3 separate regions of the Homo sapiens genome follow, and all the other regions are linked to region 3. The links are contacts of gene promoters, found by promoter capture Hi-C in blood cells and fetal thymus (Javierre and others, 2016). All regions are on one chromosome and are shown on one strand. The core of a region is centred on a gene start or on the middle of the fragment in contact, and the rest is flanking DNA. Distances in the headings are between cores, read along the strand shown.

Region 1 (3,893 bases), core at 168-2,667, 260 kb after region 3:
GGCGGATTATGAGGTCAGGAGATCGAGACCATCCTGGCTAACACAGTGAAACCTCGTCTCTACTAAAAATACAAAAATTAGCCAGGCGTGGTGGCAGGCGCTTGTAGTCCCAGCTACTCAGGAGACTAAGGCAGGAGAATAGCATGAATCCAGGAGGCAGAGCTTGCAGTGAGCCAAGATCGTGCCACTGCACTCCAGCCTGGGTGACAGAGTGAGACTCCGTCTCAAACAAAAAAAAAAAAAAAAAAAAAAGAAATTCTGACATTCTTTAATCTTATCACACCTGATTATAAGTGCTACTAAATCCCAAAACAGCCAGAATGTGTACTGAAAAGTGTGGCATGGTTCTAAATTTTTTTTATTTTTCCTCCAGTTGAACACAGCTCTAAATTGTCTCAAATAACTAATTTTTATAAAATTACTAGAAAAGAACATCTCTTTTGCAGAGGGAGGAGCAGGAGTTCATAAGAACAGGAATGGACGATTTATCTTAATTTGATTAAAAACCAAGAACCCTCACCTTTTGGGCCAAGGCAATTAATATAAAATGGCAGTAATCTTTTATTCTACTTTTTCTTAAATCATAGTTGACATATGTGGAAATGAAACGAAGAAACTTAAAAAAATCTGGGTTAATGACTAATCTCAAATTCCTTTTTTGTCCCGAAGCACTTAATGTTAATTTATTCTTTAAAAGCTTCTTATGAAAATTCGTATCTTTAATATTAGGCCAAATAAATGCTGAAAGCAAAAAGAAAAAAAAAACAATCACAAGAAACTAATGGCCTATAGATAGAGAATTAAAAGAGTGAAAGAGGTAGTGTGTACAAGTTTTATCCAAAAGTATAGTAACTGATTTCCCAACCTATCAATAAATTGGATCTTAGCTGCTAAAATTCAGAGTTTATTCAGAGGGTAAGTTTATGCAAGGAAGTACAAATAGAATCTGCCTTACTATCCTGGCCAAACTAGGGAAAAAAAATAGTTTCAGTTTGCCATTTTATACACAATGTGATCTCCAAGGCTGCCTACATGACTACATCATGAACTAAAATTTGAATCTGAAACCAAGCTGAGAAATGTCATAGAAATAAGACTAAACTTCAGTGTCTACAATCAATTTTATTTTAATATAATCTAAACACATACCATTTAGAAAATACCAAGAAAAATTTATGTACAAGAGTTGATGCTATTGCATTTGGATAAAGCTGGCAAGTTCTTGCTACTAGCATAGCCCAGGAAACACCACCGAGGAAACCTAATATATTGGAATAGATGTTGTGGCCTGTTGATAAGGGAAAAGCAAAAAGATAAGTTAGTGTTGAACAAAAGTTTGAACATTTTTAATAAGCTAGCCAACAAATTCTGAACTCACGTTTGGCCCATAGTTTGATAGCTCTCAGAGTTAACCTGAAGTTGTCAATGTTTGGTACTAGATGTAAAATTTCATCGGTTACCCTGCAACCTAATTAATAGGGGTAAAAAAAAACACACACACACACACACACACAAAACAAAACAAAACAAAAAAAAACAACATTAAATCATCAAAAGTTTAATGGTAATGCTTCCAAATTTTCTGAGATTGAAGTTAAAAGTAAACATAAATTTTTATTTGGTAGAACCAGTAAAGCTAATTCAATAAAGAGGGGGAAAAAATCTAAAGCATTTATCTCCTATTGTAAGCACTGACCAAAGAAACCAAAGTAAACTGTAACCTGCCCCAATTTGAACTTCAGATTCACAATTAAAACTTCCCACATATACTGCGGAAGACTTAATCCACTAAAGTTTCCAAGAACTGCTCTTCAAGAGCACAGTAACAAGCTATGCTAATATAAAATTGTACCAAAGTAGTCCTTCTGATCTCAGCAATGCTGAAAGCATTACTAAAGAATAACAGGATCAAAATTAATTTGGGTTAGGCCATGAAACCTAAATCACTAGCAACAGAGTACAAAAGTCAGATGGTCTTTTTAAGTGTCCTGAGTATACCATTAATGACAGAAGAAATACAGTGTATAAAATACTGTAGAGTGAAATAAACTACTACATACTCTTCTGTAGTTTATTAGGCAAAGTTCATTTTATTTAACTCACTACTGTGTTAACAATATAGCTATAAAAAGCTTCAATACAAAACTTGTGTAAAAACAACTAATATCTGACAAAAACTGAAGTACACAAAAGGAAGTAGGCTTTCTCATACCGTTAAGACTTCTTATACATCTTATATCTAAATTTTTTAGCAGACTGTCATCTCGTAGATCCAAATCTTCAGGAATTGTCTGCAGTGCTAATCTTGCAAACAAAATATCAATCTGAAACACAAACAAAACAACATTCCATATCTGTCAAACTACTTTTAAGGCATTTCTATGAAAAAACAAACAAACAAAAAATCCCAGCACTCTGGGAGGCTGAGGCAGGTGGAACACTTGAGCAAGACCAGCCTGGGCAACATGGCGAAACCCTGTCTCTATAAAAAAAATACAGGTCTGGCACAGTGGCTCGCACCTGTAATCCCAGCACTTTGGGAGGCCTGGGCAGGCGGATCACGAGGTCAGGAGATCGAGACCATCCTGGCTAACACGGTGAACCCCGTCTCTATTAAAAATACAAAAAAATTAGCCGGGCATGGTGGTGGGCACCTGTAGTCCCAGTTACTGGGGAGGCTGAGGCAGGAGAATGGTGTGAACCCAGGAGGCAGAACTGCAGTGAGCCGAGACCGCACCACTGCACTACAGCCTGGGTGACAGAGCAACACTCCGTCTCAAAAACAAAAACTACAAAAAAATTAGCCAGGTGTAGTGGCACACACCTGTGGTCTCAGCTATGGACCTCCCATGCACCTGTGGGAGGCTGAGGCAGAAAAATCATTTGAGCCTGGAAGGCGGAGGTTGCGGTAAGTCAAAACCATGCCACCGCACTCCAGCCTGGGTGACAGGAGTAAAACCCTGACTCAAAACAGCAAAACAAAAACCTAATTTTCCTTAAAGCCAGGATCCTTTCATTATCTATGAACACGACAATGTCCCTCCAAAAGTCCAAACTATATTATTTCGTATCATAGGTATTTTAATTAGATAATTTTAAAACATGGCAATATAGGCTGGGGGTAGTGGCTCCCGCCGGTAGTCCCAGCACTTTGGGAGCCAAGGCAGGAAGACTGCTTGAGGCTGTCTTCGAGATCAGCCTGGACAACATAGTGAGACTCCATCTCTACAAAAAAAATTAAAAATTAGCCAGGCATGGTGACAAGCGCCTGTAGTCCCACCTACTTGGGGGGGCTGAGGTAGGAGGATCCCTTGAGCCCAGGAGGTTGAGGCTACAGTGAACTGTGATTGCAACACTGCCTCTAGCCTGGGTAAAGTAAGACCCTGCCTCAGAAAAAAAAAAAAGAAAAAAAAAAACAAACAAACATGGCAATATTTTTAAAACAGAAATGGAAATGTACAAATACCTGGTTGTCAGTTTAATCACAATTATCAAGTTTGATGTATTAAGTTTGTTAAATGCATCTACTGGATATAGTAAGTCTAGTAAATACATATGCTGAATTAAAGTTAACTGTTTAGCTCTTCATCTATATGAATTATAAATTGATTACATACTAAAAAGTACCCAAATTTAGGCAAATAGCCTTATATTCAGCCAAAAATACCTCTCAATAAGGGGAGATCTCATTATACATGAGAACTTAATAGTACTCAAATATAAGGCAAACATCCTTACATTTAGCCAAAAATAATTCTCAATAAAGAGATTCCATTATATCTGAGAACTTTTATGTCTGTAATACTACAGTATGTTTTTCCAACTGAGTTTTAAGTAAAACAAAAACACTGGGGAAAGTACAGCCTAAAACAACCACAGTTAAGGCTAATTTT
Region 2 (3,960 bases), core at 1,220-3,719, 280 kb before region 3:
GAGGGTATGTAACTTGCCAAGGGTCACAGAGCTGGCAAGAGGTAAAGCTAGGACCTTGAATCTAGGTCTTCTGGAATCCACAGCCTGTGCTTCCCCCCTTTTCCAACTTGCCTCTTGGCTTTTGAGCCCAATCAACTTGTCTGGCACTGGCTACCTGTAATGATCTCATTTATTAATATAGTTTGACATCCTTTGCTCAGTTTTGGACACTGCTTCAAAAAATGTTTGCCATCCCTGCCATGGGTTAGGATAATCTCAGCTACAAGTAACAGCAAGTTCAAATTCAAACTGGCTTCAACAATGAGATGATTGATTAGCCCCTAACCGTGGAGGACCAGAGGCAGGGCAGGTTCCAGGCAACATATGTTAGAAGATCTGCTTTGCTGCTTCAAGGGTCCCCCTGCTTGGCCCTTTTCCATGTGTGTGCTTCTTCCTCGGGAAGGAAGGAATCAGAATGCAGCAGTTGTAGGGATTTCTCCAAAGAAGCAATGGGCCCATCTCCTGAAGTGTGAGACAGCCTCTCTTATAAGCTCCAGCTGTCATCACCTCCAGACACATTGGCCAGGGATGGGCTACATACACATTGCTGGGTTACATCCCCACTCTTAAACCATCACTGGCAGGGTGGGGGGATGACCATGGACGCTGTAGGAGAAACTTGGTAGATGTTTTCTAATCCATTACCCCCTCCAGGAGAAAAGAGTCGTTTTCAGAACCCAGGAAGACTGCCTTTCCCAGCCTCTGTTACAATTCAGTTGGGGCCATGTAACCAGCTTCGATAAATAGAATGTGAGAAAGTGATGCCCCTTCCAGGCCTGTCCATAAAATGTCTTGTGTGGTCCTCCACACTCACTTTCATCAGCAGCCAAAGGCAGAGGACTCACAGCACAGCAGAGAAGTAGAGATTAAAAGATGCCTTAAAAGATGACAGCACAGTAGAGAAGTAGAGATCTGAATTCCTAAATCGCTTCATAAGAGGCCAAATGCTGGTCTAGGCACATAAAGGTATTGTGTCAAGCCACTCAAATTTTAGGGTTATTTGTTCCTGCAGCTAGCACTAATTGCCCTAACTAATCCAGGTGGCTTCAACTAATCAGCGGGGGTGGAAAAGAAGTCTGGGAGTCAGCCATAAAAACCGCTCTGTAACAAATCATGTGCTTCATGCATGGTAGAGAGGCCCCATGTTCAGGGTCTCCCATGGCCAGGGAGATGGAAGAAAGATATTAGCGAGCTGCTTTGAAAGTTCAACAAGTTTAATAATTATAGGACAGCTTTAGAGACTACCTTTAGTCTCTGTGTGATCTTGGGCAAGTCACTCCCAAACTGGGGGCCTCAGTTTCTCCAGGAGAACATGGTATCTTTACTCTCTCCAGGCTCTGAGACCCAGTGGGTCAGGGCAGCTCAAGGGGTTGAACTGCACTTACCTTGGGTTTGGTGCTGTTGAAGCAACACATAGTGTGGCCTGGAAAAGGGTCATTTTCAGAACTAAGGCCAGGGCACCCACTCTGGAGAATCTGCACCAAGAAGCTCCAGGCCACCCAGCAACCTTGGGACAGTTACATCTGTGCATGTTGATCCCCAGGGCGGGCTCTTTTCTCACTGAAACCATTACTCCAGTGTATTTGACGTAATTCCTACAAAACATGATTTTTATAACTCTGATCAGGGAGCCAATTAATATAACTATTATTTATTGTGACTGCCTAGGCATAAAAACCACACAAATCAAACTGATTCCCCAAATCCACTTGGATCTCCACATTGTTAAGTCACATCCATTACACTGCTTTATAGTCGCATTTGTATTTTTTATTATTAATGCTATCAATACAATATTTATTCACCATGAAATAGCCTTCCACTTGGGAGGGAAATATGTGTACTTGTAAGTGCTCCTAATCATATCAAGCTCTGCACACGCTGGCTGGCGGATTGATGATGACTGGAACACATATTTTTTGAATAACAATAATGATCGCCAGTTATTGAAGTCCTACTAAGCACCAGGCTATGCCTTACATTCATTATCTCTTTAACCTTATCAATAATTATATCTTTCTCAACTTCATTTTACAGAAGGACACACTGAGGCTCAAGAAGGTGATGTAACTTCCCAAACATCCCACAAATAGTCAGTAAGGAACTGAGTCTTTGATCCAAGGACTCCCTGTTTTCACACAATTGCCCAAGTGCCTTCTAGGATCTATGGGGGGAAAGGCCAAAGCCAAGCATTCAAGATTGAAACCAAAACAACACACAAACATATCGCTCACTCTAATTGCGTCTCTTTCCTCATGTATTCTTCACCCAGAAATTGCCATCGTATCCATTTCAGTTTCATGCGAACTAACGCAGGCATCTGGATCACAAAGGCAGTGCGGCAAACTCACCTATGCTCTGCACATTTTGGAGAACATCCCCCTCAGTGATCTCAGGCCACATTTGATGACACCAGCACAGGTTACTAAAAAAGTGTCTTTCTCCCTTCCAGGCAGCAATAAAGGCAGCGTGCGCCATGTTGCTCTGCAAGTTCCCAAGAATTAGTAACATTTGAACAGACAATTTCTTGGTATCACTCCACTTCACCTCTCCCCACACCTCAGCCCTGCCCACCGCCAACCTCTCCGGCCAAACCCACCTCCAGGCAGCACAAATATTATTGACAATGCTAGGTGACAGCAGGAAACAAAACATACACCAATGATGAGGGTTGCCAGATAATGTACAAGATGCCCAGTTAGATTTGAATTTCAGATAAACAAGCATGTTTTTAGCATAACCATGTCCCCAAGAAGTATGATGGGAATTCACATTTAACCAAGCACCCTGTATTTTTATTTGCTCAATCTGGCAATCGTATCAACTACGTTAGAGAGAAAACTTCTACTTTCTCGGCTAAAGCTCCTTTTTTCTCTTGGCCCCTTTCCAGACCACTGCCAGGCCTCAAAGGAAGGGAAGTGGCTAATGTGCTGAGTCAGACCTCAGGACGCCCCTGGTCTGAGCTTCATCAGCCGGTAGAGTTTCTCTGTCGTCATGGCCAGTGTGCAAGCACACGCTTCCCTCCGGCGCTTCCACTTGTCAGGCACTAAGCAGACCAAAGCTGGACCTGCTGGTTTTTTTTAACCTGTTCCAACTCTGCTCTCCTGCACCTGGGTGGGGGACACAGGCAGGCCATCCCCTGCTCACACAGCCATCTTAGACTTAGGAGGGGTCATGGGAAACAAAGGTTTGGAGCCTCCCCTGCAGAGTCCAGCTGCTCTATCAGAGGGCCCGGCACCGGCGATGTCGCAGGACCTGTCATTTGGGTTAGGCACCTGTGGAGAAGGATCAATCCCTCCTCCAAAAACCTCCTCGAGGAGAAGAAATGAGGAATGAACCAGGCCTGAGCTCCGCTGAGCCCTGCTGTCCAGTGACCTGCAAAGGGGCAGCTCTCTGCCCAGAAACCGCAACACACAGGGCCAACCGCTACAGAACCTCAAACAGCCTGATACAGAGCAACATGCACAGGGCTCTGGGTTTCTCTGGAGAGTGGATCATGTGGACAAGATCAATAATCAATGCTTACTGGGGCCAATAGTTAGTGGGGCTGATATAACAAACCCATAAATAACTCTCCTCTGTTCTCTTCCTGAAACCCAACCCGGACCAGCACCAACCAGCTCTTTTCACGCTAGTGAACTGGTTATTCCTACAGATGAGTCCATTGGCATAAGGTCACTGATTTCCTTAAAGAGCATGTGCCCTTGCCATTATTTTCAGTGAGGGACCAATGAGCGGGCTACTTGAAATCTGACCCCAGACTTCAGATGGCCAGGGGCTTACAGGCACAGATCAACGTACAGCAACATTCTTTTTTTTTTTTTTTTTTTTTTGAAACAGAGCCTCGCTCTGTTGCCCAGGCTGGAGTGCAGTGGCTCTATCTCCGCTCACTGCAAGCTCCGCCTCTTGGGTTCACGCCAT
Region 3 (4,119 bases), core at 1,572-4,071:
ATGGCAAGTAGAAATATATTCACAGGAATTTTGATCAAAAGAGCCAAACTTATCCTAGAGTAAAAATACATCTTGGTTACAACACCTACCTAAATGTTTTATTAGGGTTCTATCACCCTTTTAAATTAATCTTGTACCTTTATTAAACATTTTCTACATTTTAACATTAATAGTGCAGTTTTTCAAAGGCGCCCTACACATTTATTGGATTATTCTGTGCTGGATGCTAGATAAAGTTAAAAAAAAAAAAAAAAAGACGTACACTAATTTAAAACAAAGAAAACTTGCTTCAGCAAAACACTACAATAGCAATAGACTTTGCACCTAGCACAATTCCTTGTAAATAGGGGGCACGTGATCTCTGCTGAATAAATGAGTCCATTTCTCCTTACTCCGAAAAATAACCCTGGCAAGCATGTAAAATATCCTACCAGTCTGAAAAATATTCTCCAGTCCTATTCAGCTACCAATCCATTCTCAGAACCCATCAAGAGCAATTTTCATGAAAGCCTCACTCACACGCACAAAGAGGCAGCATTTAATTCCCATTAGGCTCACTGCCTGATCTACGGAGATATAAGCATTTGCACATTTGCATAAATTCAGGAGACATCCTTCATTTGATATAAGGTAAATCTTAAAGCTTCGCTTCATTTCCAAATAAGTTTTATTTTTCAAATCAAAAATATTTTTAAAGTTTTATTTTTCAAATCATAATCCTAATCATAGTACATTATATCTTATTAGGGATGCTTTTAAGAAAAAAAAATATAGCTGTCAAAATTAAAATCTTGTTTTTTCATTTCTAGACATCTGGGACATTTCACTTATATATTTATTATTATTTCACATTAGTTCTCAAAGTTAAAAAAAAAAGCTGGCCTATTTCCTTTAAGAAATTTAATTTTAGGGTCTGTCAACATTTTGAATGCATTACTGTTATTTTTAAAATACACACTTGCATACTGGAATAAAACTTAGCATAAGCTTTCCATATAACCATTTCCTGGGCACTTACTAACTTACTATATGCCAGGCTCTATGCTTAACACATTACTCCATTATCTCATTTGTTTAACAAATATCCTCTCATAATTTTTGCAGCACTGAACATAACAAGAAGACATTGCACTATAAAACTGGTATTTGTACTGGATACCAGAACTAAATTGACAGTAACGCCTAACACAAGTTTATTGTTATTAAATTCAAGTTGTGTTACTGTATTAACACAGAATCTGATCAGCAATGTTGAGATGTAGAGAATACCATCTGTGGTAGCATCAACAGAGAAAGCTATTATTAAGTGACTACTTAAGTTACATTCCCTTCTATAGGTAACAGATGAACATAATCTTATCTACCCAGAAATTTAATTCCAATCACTACATGCCATTTTGAAGAACATAAACGTAACCTACATAAAATGACTATATAAAGAACCCTTGCTTCCTTCTGAAAATGCTTCAAAATTCTAGATTAAATTCTCCCCCAAAGTATCATGCTCAGCATGTCATAAAGAAAGGTGCCTTTATTGTCAACTCTTGAAAATAAATGCTGCCCTACTTTTTTTTACTCTTGAATTTCAGTCTCAACAGATGGGCAATTCCAGTTTAAAAAAAAAGAAGAAGAAAAGAAAAACACACACACAATAATTAATGAAGTTCTTCAACAGTTCCCTAAAACCAACATCCTCCCAATAGCAAATTGTATTTCCAAGTTGTTCCAAGAAAGGGACACAGGAAAGGGAAGGGAAGAGTCTATACAAAGGAAAACAAAAATGAGTGACTTGAAAGAAAGGACATCAGAAAAATGGGTGGCCTCAACAGGAACCTATAGTGTCTGACTCTGCTGCTGTCTGTCGAATTTAATTCTACCACCTAAGAGTTTTGAGACGAGAACCACAATACTATTTCGGTGGTAGGAAAAACTATGCGTTGCCCCTGAATGGAGCTGCAACAGTAAAGGATGCCACCCTGCCAGGTAAGGACAGAATGAGGAGGAACTGTCAAACGGTTATGAAAGTCCCTTGCAAAACACACAAGCGGCTCTAACTGCCTTGCACCAGACAGACCCTCAAGTACAGGATCACGGGGCCTCCCCGCGATGTGACAGGGAAATAACGGGCGGCCTCGCGGTCCCCAGGCCTGGCTGCTATCCTCAGGGGTCGGCCTCCCCTCTCAGGTCTCAAGTCAAAGGTCACATCCTCTGAGATGCCCTCCCGGATCACCTAACCTAAAGAGCCTCGCCCCCATTCCTCTAGCCCGCAACTGCCTGTCCCGTTTCTAAGAAAGCATTTCCGTATCCGCAAAACATCGCAGCTGCGTGTGTTGTTTCCCTTCTACAGAGTGAGCTCTGCGGGGCAGGGGCCTCGCCTGCGCTGTTCACCCGGAGCCCCGCCTGACAGAACCGGCTTCCCGGTGAGGCCCGAGGCGGCGTTTGCGAGCTCGGCCGCGACACCACGCGCGTCCAGAACGTGGAGCTCAGATGGGGGCCGGCCTGGCCAGTCCAGGCATCCCCGGGGGCGCCTGCGGGGCCTGAACGAGACAAGGAAGGAGCGGACGCCCGCGCAGGCGGAAGCCACGCGGCGGAGCGCGGTCCCGCGGGGCGACCGAGGCTGACGGCGACTCCCGCACCCCGGTGGACCCACAGGCCGCCCGGAAGGCCCAGTGCCGGCCCCAGCCCCGGCCGCCCGCCTCCGCGCCCCCGGCTCGGCGCGCGAGTCCTCGAGCCGTGTCGCCTGCGGCCTCCCTACCCTAAGCCGCAGACCCGTCGCGTTCTGCCCAGTACGAACTTCCCGCCGCTTTCGCCGACTCGTAACTCGGCAGCGGCGCCGGCCCCTTCGCACCCTGCAGTATGGAGCCTTCCCATTGGCTCGGAGGCGACGAGGAGGGGCGGGACGAGTGGTAACGCGAGGCGCGGGGCGGAGGCTACGCTAGCCCCGCGCCTCCCCGGGAATGCCGGGAGCTGTGGTCCAGCGCTCCCAAGGCATCCTGGGAGTTGGAGTCTCTTAGCGGCAAAGGGAGATCCCCGTCCTTCTGCTCCCTGGTCTTCTAGGAAATGTGGTTTACAGCCTTGTTCGTAGTAGCTTGATTTATTAAGTGTATTGGCAGAGAGTTGGGTGTAAAATAAGTTTCCTGTTTCTGTTAGGATTAAATGAAATAATCTATAGGCAGTACTTTAAACTTAGTTGGTGCTCAATAAATAGCAGATAGTGTTAGTATTATTCTGCCCACTCATTGATATGTGTCTAAATCCTACCTGTTTTTCGAAGCCTATTTCAAAGCATATCTCAATGTCTACCTAATCATCTATAGTGTTTCATCTGTAATCAACGTATGCCACAGTTTGCATTGTGTTTATTATTTATTTTTATTTATTTATTTTTTTGAGACGGAGTCTCACTCTGTCGCCCAGGCTGGAGTACAGTGGCACAGTCTCGGCTCACTGCAAGCTCCGTCTCCCGGGTTCACGCCATTCTCCTGCCTCAGCCTCCCGAGTAGCTGGGACTACAGGCGCTCGCCATCACGCCCAGCTAATTTTTTTCTGTTTTTAGTAGAGACGGGGTTTCACCGTGTTAGCCAGGATGGTCTCGATCTCCTGACCTTGTGATCCGCCCGCCTTGGCCTCGCCAAGTGCTGGGATTACAGGCGTGAGCCACCGCGCCCGGCCGCATTGTGTTTATTATAATCAGCTAAGTCTCCATCACCCATGAGGCTGAGAGCTTATTGGGCACTGGGTCATTGTTCTAGGTCAAAATCACTGAAGTCACAGGCAGAGGGAGATTAACAATGAAGCCAATGAAGCGTAAGCTTCAGGACCTCACTTGCGCAGGTCCCTCAATGAGTTTACATAGCTTTGGGGGTTTATTTGTCGATTTTACTTTTCTTTTTCTTTTTTTTAAAGATATAGTCTCACTTTGTCACCCAGGCTGCAATGCATTGGCGCGATCTCGGTTCACTGCAGCCACGACCTCCTGGGCTCAAGCAATCCTCCCACCTCAACCCTCCGAGTAGCTGGGATTACACGCACAGGCCACCACTTCTGGCTAATTTTTGTATTTTTTGTAGAGACAGGGTTTGACCATGTTGCCCAGGCTGGTCTTGAACTCCTGAGCTC

Evidence for each region. Contacts are between HindIII fragments. The CHiCAGO score rates a contact against its expected background, and 5 or more counts as called.
Region 1: a fragment that was not itself captured here is called in contact with the fragment with the promoter of VRK1 in region 3 in 1 of 17 cell types (erythroblasts); the score reaches 5.9 in erythroblasts.
Region 2: a fragment that was not itself captured here is called in contact with the fragment with the promoter of VRK1 in region 3 in 1 of 17 cell types (erythroblasts); the score reaches 5.3 in erythroblasts.

What each region holds. Positions count from the first base shown.
Region 1 is chr14:96,529,906-96,533,798 of GRCh38, reverse strand. It overlaps PAPOLA (poly(A) polymerase alpha), which reads right to left. Exons shown (of 22, transcript NM_032632.5): 7 at 2,213-2,324; 8 at 1,379-1,468; 9 at 1,150-1,288. Among named protein-coding and RNA genes, the nearest start is that of PAPOLA, 29 kb to the right of the region's middle. The HindIII fragment of the contact is 1,435 bases long and covers 700-2,134 here.
Region 2 is chr14:97,076,551-97,080,510 of GRCh38, reverse strand. No RefSeq gene overlaps it. Among named protein-coding and RNA genes, the nearest start is that of LINC02304, 76 kb to the left of the region's middle. The HindIII fragment of the contact is 5,230 bases long and covers 1-3,960 here.
Region 3 is chr14:96,796,084-96,800,202 of GRCh38, reverse strand. VRK1 (VRK serine/threonine kinase 1) reads right to left here and starts at 2,821. Exons shown (of 13, transcript NM_003384.3): 1 at 2,756-2,821. RefSeq lists an enhancer at 1,964-2,495 and silencers at 2,440-2,729, 2,740-2,939. The HindIII fragment of the contact is 2,825 bases long and covers 990-3,814 here.